2 separate regions of the Homo sapiens genome follow, and region 1 is linked to region 2. The links are contacts of gene promoters, found by promoter capture Hi-C in human tissues and cell types (Jung and others, 2019). All regions are on one chromosome and are shown on one strand. The core of a region is centred on a gene start or on the middle of the fragment in contact, and the rest is flanking DNA. Distances in the headings are between cores, read along the strand shown. Region 1 holds the start of POLG (DNA polymerase gamma, catalytic subunit). Region 2 holds the start of TTLL13 (tubulin tyrosine ligase like 13).

Region 1 (5,036 bases), core at 2,537-5,036, 910 kb after region 2:
AGGCATTAGCCACCATGCTTCACACTTCTTACTTCACACTTCTTACTGGAGTCTATCTTCTCTCATCTGTAAAATGAATAATAACAGCACCTACTTTATGGGGTCATTGAAATGATTAAATAAAATGGTGCTCTAAAGCGTTCAGCCTGGTTCATTTGCAAGTGGTAGCTGTTGATAAAGGAAGAGTGGTGATATTTTCTGTCTGTGGCAGAAATTGCTGGAGTTGGGCTTGGCAAACCTGAGAGAAGACCATGAAAGTCACCAGGAAGTAAGCACACGAGAGGGACTCTGGAGGAGCAGGCTGTCACCTGAGGGCCCCTTACTTAGTCAGCAGCAGTGATGTAGGAGGCCACATCAGTGTGCACGTGCAGCGCCTGGCACACAGTTGTGCAGTAGGGATCCTCTGCTAGCATCATAAAGCCAGTATTTGCCGTGTAGTGCAGTTGCTGAGATCCTGGTTTCCATGAATTCAAATCCCAGCTCTACCAATGACCAGCTATAGGGCTTTAGGCAAGCTGCTTCGCCTCTCTGTGCCTTAGTTTCCTCATGGGTGAAAGGGGATAACGGTACCTCTATCCAAGGGTCGATGTGAGGATTCACTTAAGTGACATATGTGAGCCCTTAGAACAGCACCTGGCAGCTAGCAAGTGCCGGTTATTACCAAGCTCCAGGCAGGTCCTGGAATTGAGCTCAAAATAAGACACAAGGTCAGTCCCTATGGGCATTTACAGCAGTGGAAGGGGGAGATTTTTAAAAAATCATCATTAGTTACAACTGAGGTACATGCTTTGAAAGTACAGGGTGTTCTGGCCCAGCGCAGTGACTCAAGCCTGTAATCCCAGAACTCTGGGAGGCCAAGGCGGGTGGATCACTTGAGGCCAGGAGTTCCAGACCAGCCTGGCCAACATGGTGAAACCAGTCTCTACTAAAAATACAAAAATTAGATCCACATGGTGGCACACACCTGTAATCCCAGCTACTCCGGAGGCTGAGGCACGAGAATCGCTTGAACCTGGGAGGTGGAGGCTGCAGTGAGCTGAGATCACGCCTCTGCACTCCAGCCTGGGCACAGAGCAAGACTCTGTCTCAGAAGAAGAAGAAGAAAAAAAGTACGGAGTGTTTTGATGAGGACAGGGGTCCTAATGAACTTTGCCTCTTGCTCTGTGGGGGGAGAGGTCCAGGGAATTGTGGGAAAATGTAACTGTTTCTCAGGAACCACTATCAAGGACAGACTTTTCTAGAAGGACGTGGGGGAGTTCCTAGAAAAGGAGGCAGGGGAAGTGGAGGAGCTGGGTTCAGAAAGGCCTGGAAACAGGGTGTAGCCTGGCAGGAAGGGTGCAGGCCTCCAGGTACCCTCCCTCAGCAGGAATCAGTATCAACCGTTTTTGTCCTTGTTGAAGATTCTAATTCCAGGACCAGGGCACTAGGCTAGTCTCAAGTAGTCTATGGGAGGAGCAGGCATCTTGATGGACATCTCCTGAGACTGAATCTCAGGAGAGGCCAATCAGGCCCAGCAACAGCAGCCCCTGTGGACAGTTGGGCCAGGGGTTCTTAGCTTTTTTGTGTCATAGACACCTTCTTAGAATAGTGTGTTTCTTTCTTTCTTTTTTTTCTTTTTTTTGTTGTTGTTGTTGTTTTGGTGGGGAGTGGGGAGATGGAGTCTCACTCTGCTGCCCAGACTGGAGTGCCATGGTGCAATCTCGGCTCACTGCAGACTCTGCCCCCCGGGTTCAAGAGGTTCTCCTCCCTCAACCTCCCAAGTAGCTGGGATTACAGGCGTGCACCACCATGCCGGGCTAAGTTTTGTATTTTTTTGGTAGAGATGGGGTTTCGCCATGTTGGCCAGACTGGTCTTCAACTCCTGAGCTCAGGCAATCCATCCACCTCAGCCTCCCAAAGTGCTGGGATTACAGGCGTGAGCCACTGAACCTGGCCTAGAGTAGTGTTTCTGTTTTTAATTTTTTTCTGTGAAATATGTTTTATTAATTTTTATTTCAATAGGGGTACAGGCAGTTTTTGGTTATATGGAAGAATAGTGTTTTTAAGCACATAAAACATGAAGGATTACAAAGGACACCAAAGGTATTCAAATATTAGGACAAATAGGTAAACTTATTAACTAACAGGATCTAGTGGCAGTCTAGTAACCCCTGTTATTTTGAAGTACAGATAAGTGCAAACAAATTTTGAAAAATGTGCAGCACTTGTAATGCGTTATGAAAATATCTGTGGTTGCTGGAGGGGACAAAGTCACAGGCACTGTTAATACCACTGTGGCTGACAGCCTATGCTCATAATTGGAGGAAATGCCAAGTATCAGTAGGCGGTTAGAAGAAACAAGATGAAAATGTTTTCCCCATTCAGGGACTCCCTGATTTAAGCTGAGAGCCTCTCCTTCCAGTATTTTGTAAAAGTCAACAGTTATGTGAAAAAAAAAAAAAAAACAGATGAATTTCTGATTGATTGTATTTTTTTGGCAAAACAAAAAAATCACAAACATTAAAACATTGTGTATATTAAGTACATCTAGAAAAGTGTATGCAAAATATTTCATATTTAAATAGAAGGGACCAGGGCTCAATGCTGCTTGGCCCGGGGCTTCTCTCTACCTCTCCACGTGGCGGGAGCAGGTGAGGGTCGGCATCAGCCCGCAGGGCCGGCGGAGGATTGTTTCCCTGCACCCCACTCCTTAAAAACGCGAAAGTCAACTTCTGTAGTCCGTTCACGGTGTCCTGGGATCCACGCTGGACGGTGGCGGCCGACTTTCAGCTTGACCTGAATTTTATTCCTAATCAGCTGTGTGATCTCGGTTGGTCCCAAACGTCTCTGAGCCTCCCTTTCATCTGTGCAGCTGGGCCTCCAGACCCCAACCCCCAGGCGGTGCTTAATCACGTAGACCTTATTCTGCGTGCACTTTACCACAGTTCACCAACCACCGAGCGCTGAGAGCTGTTGAAGCACCTGGAGCAACACAAGACGGATGCGGAGACTGGAAACAGCTGGGGAAGGGGACAAGCTCCAGCCGCGCTGTGGGCCGGAGGCTAGCATCTGCGGGCAAATTCAGGTTCAACGGAAGGCAACATTTTTACCCCTCAGAATTGCTCTGGACGAGGAGGCAGCACCGGATGGGCGAGGGAGGGAGCCTCGCTTTGGCTGCGAGCCCCAACTCTTGCCAACCATCAATTGAGTATAAATTGAGATTTCTGTACAGGATGCCCCTCCCTCTCCACTTTCCTCCACCTGCGTCGGGGTGCGAGAGACCTGGTACATTTTAGAAATGTGCCTCCGCTGAGACACGTAGGCGGGCAATCTCGCAGGGACTTGCTGGGCGTGGTTACTTCCGCGGATCTTGGCGTTCCCACATCTTTGAAGTGCGGTGGGAATCGGCGGCGACTACGTTCACATTGTCCCAATACTTCGTTCCTGAGGGAGGAATAAACTAAAAGTTAATCATAACCTCCCTTCGACCGCGGCAGGACTCGAACCTGCAATCTTCTGATCCGAAGTCAGACGCCTTATCCATTAGGCCACGCGGCCCGTCGGTTGTTACCGTCTCTTGAGCAACTTATAAAAACGTCACCTCCGCCCACCAGCTAGCTCGGGACCAATCCACCTGCTCCTTGAGAAGGGGAGGTTGGCCTTTGGTTCGCGCGTTCCGCAGGGAGAGCCCACCCAGAAGTCCCCCTTCTCCCCCCGCGGGCGGACCGCTCCATTGGCGGCCCTCCTATTGGTCGCGCTGGGAGTCTCCCGCTTGCCTCTCGGGTAGCCGCGGGACCTAGCTGGGTGCAGACGGGAAGTTGCGGCTGCCAGCGAAGCGGACCGGCCGGGTGGAGGCCACACGCTACCCCGAGGCTGCGTAGGCCGCGCGAAGGGGGACGCCGTGCCGTGGGCCTGGGGTCGGGGGAGCAGCAGACCGGGAAGCACCGTGAGGACCGAGGTTTCCGGCGGGGTCGGCGGCGGGGAGGCCGGGTCGCTGAGCGACGGCGCGGCCCCTCCCTCTCCAGTCAGGGAGCGAGGCCCGGAGCAGGGCGGCGGCTAGTCCCAGGGCGCACCGCGGCGCCTCTGCCGGGCGCAGGCGGGCGGCGGGGCGCACGGGGGTGGCCGCCGACTCCTCCTGCAGGACGCTCTCGGCCGGGTGGGCCGTGGTCCGGGTGTGGGTGTGGGTCCCGGGGGACGGCGGCCCACCCTGCGGGTTCGAATCCGGGCGCTGGCACCTCTCGACGCTAGGCCCGCGCCGGTCGCGGTAATGGCAGCCACCATTTGCCGAGCGCTTGCCAAGAGCAGGGCCGCACGACATAGGCGCCCTGTGTCCCCCAGACAGCAGCCCGGTGTGACAGGCAGAATCCGTAATCCCATTTTACAGAATAGGATATCAGGGCCTAAGGAGCTTTGCCCAAGGTCACACAGCTCGAGAGAGCCAGAAGCGGGGTTCAAAACCGCGTCGCCCTACTCCAGATACTGCTCTCTTACTCGCTGCCCTCGGCTTCCCCACGTGGGTTCACTGACGAAGTTGCGTGGACCCCGGTTCCCCCAGGAGGGGTATTGACGTTTCCCAAGTTTTGAGGCTTAACGGAAAATGCAACTGAAGCGCCTGGCACAGTGTTGGGGACGCAGTAAATGCTCAAGGAATGATGATTATGGATACACCTATTACATATATGGTAAAATAACGCTTTATATCATCTGTCTCCTTTAGGATTTGGGGTGGAAGGCAGGCATGGTCAAACCCATTTCACTGACAGGAGAGCAGAGACAGGACGTGTCTCTCTCCACGTCTTCCAGCCAGTAAAAGAAGCCAAGCTGGAGCCCAAAGCCAGGTGTTCTGACTCCCAGCGTGGGGGTCCCTGCACCAACCATGAGCCGCCTGCTCTGGAGGAAGGTGGCCGGCGCCACCGTCGGGCCAGGGCCGGTTCCAGCTCCGGGGCGCTGGGTCTCCAGCTCCGTCCCCGCGTCCGACCCCAGCGACGGGCAGCGGCGGCGGCAGCAGCAGCAGCAGCAGCAGCAGCAGCAGCAACAGCAGCCTCAGCAGCCGCAAG
Region 2 (5,366 bases), core at 104-2,603:
GGGGATCTAGGGAATAGTTACCTGCGTTTCCGCCTTCTCTTCCTCCTCCCAGCTTCTAAGTCGCCTGTGTCAACTGGGGCTATGACTTTCTTCGGAATTTTTGTGGCCATAATGGGTGAGGGAACCCCATTTTTTAATGCCTTATAGTCAGCTTTTAAGAGAGCCTGCTGTGAAGAGTTAGAGGGGTTGGTAACTCCCTCTTTAACACACTTCTCAGATTCCTTTTCCTCAACATAGTCTTCCTCTGATTCCATGGTCCTACAGGTACTCGGCTCCATTCTCTCAGATTCTGAGGGGTTGCGGGGTGGGAATGAAGTGTATATCAGACCTCAGACCTCCCTCAGGCCCTAGAAGGCCTGAAGGAATCCACCAGAACGACCTTCATGCTGTTATAAGGGAAAGTTGCTGCCCCTTCAGGACAAAACTGTTTCACTGAGGAATGGGATGTGTCCAGGTAGGTGGAGGTGCATGGGGGTGGAAGACACCAGTGAGATGTGGATTCCCTGATGACAAGCCCCAATCATCCAGGTTCACACTGGATCATACAACGCACAGGGGTGCCTTCAGGAGTTGGACACAGATGGTATGGGCCATGACCATGGCTCTTTTGTTCCTAATTGGGAAAGAGGATGGCTGTGAGTGCTGGGGGGACCTTCGCTTTAAAATACAGCTGAATCGGCCCAGCACGTTGGGAGGCTGAGGCGGGCAGATCACTTGAGGTCTGGAGTTGGAGAGCAGCCTGGCTAGCACGGTGAAATCCCGTCTCTCCTAAAAATACAAAAATTAGCTGGGTGTGCTGGTGCGTTGCCTGTAATCCCAGCTACTCGGGAGGCTGAGGGAGGAGAATCACTTGAACCTGGGAGGTGGAGGTTGCAGTGAGCCGAGATCACACCACTGCACTCCAGCCTGGGCGACAGAGCAAGAGTCTGTCTCTAAATAAATAAATAAATAAATAAATAAAATAAAATACAGCTGAAGACCAAAAGCCCCCTACGCTGGCCCTTTCCCTCTCCCAGGACTCATTTTCTGCACGTGTACACACTAGGGACAGGCACCCGATGGCTAAGACCCTTTGGGCTGTGACGGTGGAGACTGCCCACCCGTGGTTACGAGGAGAGCTGAGGGGCTGCTGGGTCCGCCCCTAGCCGCCTGGGGATGGACTCAGCTGGCCGCTCATGTCCCCTCTTCCCCCGGCTCCAGGTCTCCCTGGGCGTTTCTGGGCGTCCGGAACCGCCTCCTCGTTTCACAGGACTGGCTGTCCCCACGATCGCGAGGGGGAAGCTGCTCCCCCGCAGGGGTTCACTCCTAGCTCCCGGTGGCCGTGGCTGCGGCTGCCGGGGCAGCGCTTCCTCTAGCAAGCCCGTGGCCGCCGCCGTTGCCATGGACACGAGGGCAGTTCCCATTGGAGAAGCGTCCTGGGGGCGGGGCTTTCCCGCAGCCACACCCACTTGGGCGCGGGCCGAGGCTACCTTGGGTGGGGGAGACAGCGTTTGCCCTTTGGAGCTGGCCGGCCTCGACGCCAGATTCTTCCGGTGTATCATGGGACTTGCAGCCCTCCCGCTTCGAAGCCAGTTCTCGCCGCACTCCCATCTTTCCCTAAACCCCGGGCCAAGGAATTTGGCCAAGCATATAATGAGGACAAATAGCTGTTTGCCTCTCCTCAATTCTCCCTTTTTTTTTTTTTTTTTTTTTTTGAGACGGGGTCTTGCTGTGTCGCCCAGGCTGGAGTGCAGTGGAATGCACCATCATAGCTCACTGCAGCCTGGACCTCCTGGGCTCAAGCAATCCTCCTGCCTCAGCCTCCCCAGTAGCTGTGACTACAGGAGCGTGCCACCACGCCGGGCTCAATTCTTTAGTAACTCTAAGTTTAGCTAGCAAAGCCTATGCATTCAAGAGTGACAGCCATGGTAAGGCCACGTGCCTTTCAAGGCTTTGCCTCTGGTGGACTGAGACAGCTCCATTAAGGAATAACCAAACCGCCTTATCACAGTGCTCCTTCACTGTCACCTTCTCTTCCTGACATCCACCCACTTTGATTTCTGCTCACCACCTCCACCCAACTCAGCTCAACTTGTCACCCTAAAATTATACTGTGTGGCTAAATCTAGAGAACACTTAAAATGTTTCCATCCTTTTAAAAAGACATGGACTTTTTTTTTTTTTTTTTTTTTTTTTTTTTTTTTTTTTTTTGAGACAGGGTCTTGCTTTGTAGCCCAGGCTGGATTGCAGTGGTGTGATCGCAGCTCACTGCAACTTTACTTAGCTTCCCAGGCTCAAGCAATCCTCCCACTTCAGCGTCCCAAGTAGCTGGGGCTACAGGTGCGCACCACCATGCCTGGCTAATTTTTGTATTTTTTGTAGAGATGGGGTTTTGCTGTGTTGGCCAGGCTGATCTTGAACTCCTGACCTCAAGTGACCTGCCCACCTTGGCTTCCCAAAGTGGTGGGATTACAGGCATGAACCACTGAACTCGGCCTAAAAAAGGCATGGACATTCTCTAATTCATAGACTGTTTTTGTTGTTGTTAATTGTCTATAAAGATAAGCTATTTCTTTGCCCACATATTCATGTTTCATAGTTCAGGAACATAGGTTAGTGATAAACTTCTATGTAATGCAACCCAAAGAAACTGTTTATACCAAAATCACTTTGCACTTTGAAAGATACCAGCCTTCCTCATCTCCTCAAAATCTTTCATAGAATCAGCAAGGCTAGGTGGCAGGCCCTGTAGTCCCAGCTACTAGGAAGACTGAGGTGTGAGGATCTCTTGAGCATGGGAGTTAAGAGGATGCCGTGAGCTATGATTATGCCACTGCACTTCAGCTTGGGTGACAGAGTGAGAACTCGTATTTAAAAAAACAAATATCTGGCCGGGTGTGATGGCTCACGCCTGTAATCCCAGCACTTTGGGAGGCCAAGGTGGGCGGATCACCAGGTCACGAGATCAAGACCATCCTGGCTAACACGGTGAAACCCCCTCTCTACTAAAAATAAAAAAATAAAAAAATAAAAATTAGCTGGGCATGGTGGCGGGCGCCTGTAGTCCCAGCTACTTGGAAGGCTGAGGCAGGAGAATGGTGTGAATCCGGAGCTTGCAGTGAACGGAGATCGCGCCACTGCACTCCAGCCTGGGCGACAGAGGGAGTCTCTGTCTCAAAAAAAAAAAGCAAACAAAAAAATCTTTGATGGAATTATAATTTCTCTAGAAATCTGCATATGCCTTCTTTCCCGGTTCAGCCACAGCAAATGTATAGAGTGCTACAACCCTCTATACAGGGATACAGCAATGTGAAACCAGAGGTCATGCATCTGAGGTTTCATCAAAACACTGGAAGCCATGGTAGTTATTGTCCTTGATAGGTATGTCAACCTCAACACCAATGTCCTTCCTGGCTGATGGAGAAATGGGCTGCCCGATTCACAGACTTCTTGATCTTTCCTCAGCATATGATACTCTCATATGAAACTCTCCTCCTGGCTAGGAGTGGCAGCCTACATCGCTAATCCCAGCACCTTGGGAAGCTGAGGCAGGAGGATTACTGGAGGCCAGGAGTTTGAGACCAGGCTGGGCAATACAGCGAGACTCTCTCTCTTAAAAAAAAAAAAAAAAGAAAAAAGAAAAGAAAAGAAAAAAAAGGCCAGTGTGGTGACTCATGGCTGTAATCCCAGCACTTTGGGAGGCTGAGGCAGGTGGATCACGAGGTCAGGAGTTCGAGACCAGCCTGGCCAATATGGTGAAACCCTGTCTCTACTAAAAATACAAAAATTAGCTGGGCATGGTGGCGCACGCCTGTAGTCTCAGCTATTCAGGAGGCCTAGGCAGGAGAATTGCTTGAATCCAGGACGCAGAGGTTGCAGTGAGCCAAGATCGTGCCACTGCACTCCAGCCTGGATGACACAGTGAGACTCCGTCTCAAAAGAAAAAAAAAAAAGGAAAGAAAGAAATGGTCCTCCTGGAAATGTTCTGCAGTCCCTTGACTTCCAGGACACTCATTGCATCAACAAACAATTTAGTGTTCTAGGGACTATTCTAGGACCTCGACCACCATTTCTTGCCTGAATTGCCACAATTCAGCAATTTTTTTTTTTTTTTTTTTTTTTTTTTTTTTTTTTTTTTTTTTGAGACAGAGTCTCACTCTGTTGCCCAGGCTGGAGTGCAATGGCTCAATCTCGGGTCACTGCACCCTCTGCCTCCCGGGTTCAAGTGATTCTCCTGCGTCAGCCTCCTGAGTAGCTGGGATTACAGGCATCTGCCACCACACGGGGCTAATTTTTGTATTTTCAGAGAGATGGGGTTTCACCATGTTGGTCAGGCTGGTCTCAAACTCTTGACCTCAGGTGATCCACCTGCTTGGGTCTCCCAAAGTGCTGCTGGGATTACAGGCGTGAGCCACTACACCTGGCCTCAGCAGTCTGTTAACTGGATTCCCTGATTCTATTCTTCACTCCATCCATCCTCCCCATTACAGCGTAAGTATTCTTCCTCAAATGCAAAGCTGTTACTCAAATGCAAAGCTGTTACCCCACATTAAGTATTCTTCAAGGTTTCCCATTAGATCAAGTCTAAACCCTCTTAGTACATGAGGCCCTGCATGAAGAGTTCTGATTATCGTTTTTTGTTTTGTATTTTTTTTTTGAGATGGAGTCTCGCTCTGTCACCCAGGCTGGAGTGCAATGGCACGATCTTGGCTCACTGCAACCTCTGCCTCCTGGGTTGAAGCGATTCTTCCGCCTCAGCCTCCTGAGTAGCTAGGATTACAGGCGCATGCCACCATGCCCGGTTAATTTTTGTATTTTTGTAGAGACTGGGTTTCACCATGTTGGTTAGGCTGGTCTTGAATTCCTGACCTCCGGTGATCTGCCCGCCTCGGCCTCCCAAAGTGCTGGGATTACAGGAGTGTGCCACCGTGCCCGGCCTCTGCATGAAGAGTTAAGCAAAAACGTGGGGAGGTCCTGGGCTGGGTCAGCACTTCCTACCATACTCAAAGCCCAGGGCTCGGAGTACAAAGGGCCCCTACGTGTTTCCTACTCAGTAGAAAAAGCTGCAGTCCAAATGCTCTTCTTGAAGATTCACAAAGCATATAAATAGCTGAGAAATACCACCAGAAAGAAAACCCATTTTACTTTCCCCTTTTTATATGGAGAAACATATTTGAGTCAGGGAAGGCTTTCCTCTAAACATCAGTCCTACGGAGAAACTGGGAAAATCCTGATATTTGGCTTATCACTTTGAACGCAAAATCCACTTTGCTGTAATGGTCATCCGAACTCCCTTCAGAGAGCAAGCAAGCAAAATTAAGTGTGATACTGGAGCTTATGCATGCAAAAGCTTGCAAAAAGTATTAAGGAAAAATTACTGCAGTTTA

The links. Contacts are between HindIII fragments. The study calls those that stand out against the background at their distance.
Region 1: the fragment with the promoter of POLG here is called in contact with the fragment with the promoter of TTLL13 in region 2 in 1 of the 25 tissues and cell types used here (stomach).

Annotation. Positions count from the first base shown.
Region 1 is chr15:89,333,574-89,338,609 of GRCh38, reverse strand. POLG (DNA polymerase gamma, catalytic subunit) reads left to right here and starts at 3,786. Exons shown (of 23, transcript NM_002693.3): 1 at 3,786-3,937; 2 at 4,697-5,036. The coding sequence starts at 4,856. POLGARF (POLG alternative reading frame) reads left to right here and starts at 4,801. Exons shown (of 2, transcript NM_001430120.1): 1 at 4,801-5,036. The coding sequence starts at 4,801. POLG-DT (POLG divergent transcript) reads right to left here and starts at 4,123. Exons shown (of 2, transcript NR_186332.1): 1 at 3,756-4,123; 2 at 2,449-3,423. It overlaps TRR-TCG1-1 (tRNA-Arg (anticodon TCG) 1-1), which reads right to left and starts at 3,537; the gene lies at 3,465-3,537. RefSeq lists silencers at 1,601-1,770, 3,728-4,327 and enhancers at 2,578-2,627, 2,968-3,037, 3,048-3,147, 4,017-4,518. The HindIII fragment of the contact is 12,446 bases long and covers 1-5,036 here.
Region 2 is chr15:90,245,543-90,250,908 of GRCh38, reverse strand. It overlaps TTLL13 (tubulin tyrosine ligase like 13), which reads right to left and starts at 1,353. Exons shown (of 15, transcript NM_001396017.1): 1 at 1,101-1,353; 2 at 22-289. The coding sequence starts at 278. GDPGP1 (GDP-D-glucose phosphorylase 1) reads right to left here. Exons shown (of 4, transcript NM_001013657.3): 4 at 5,098-5,366. It also overlaps a transcript of CIB1 not described here. The HindIII fragment of the contact is 10,980 bases long and covers 1-5,366 here.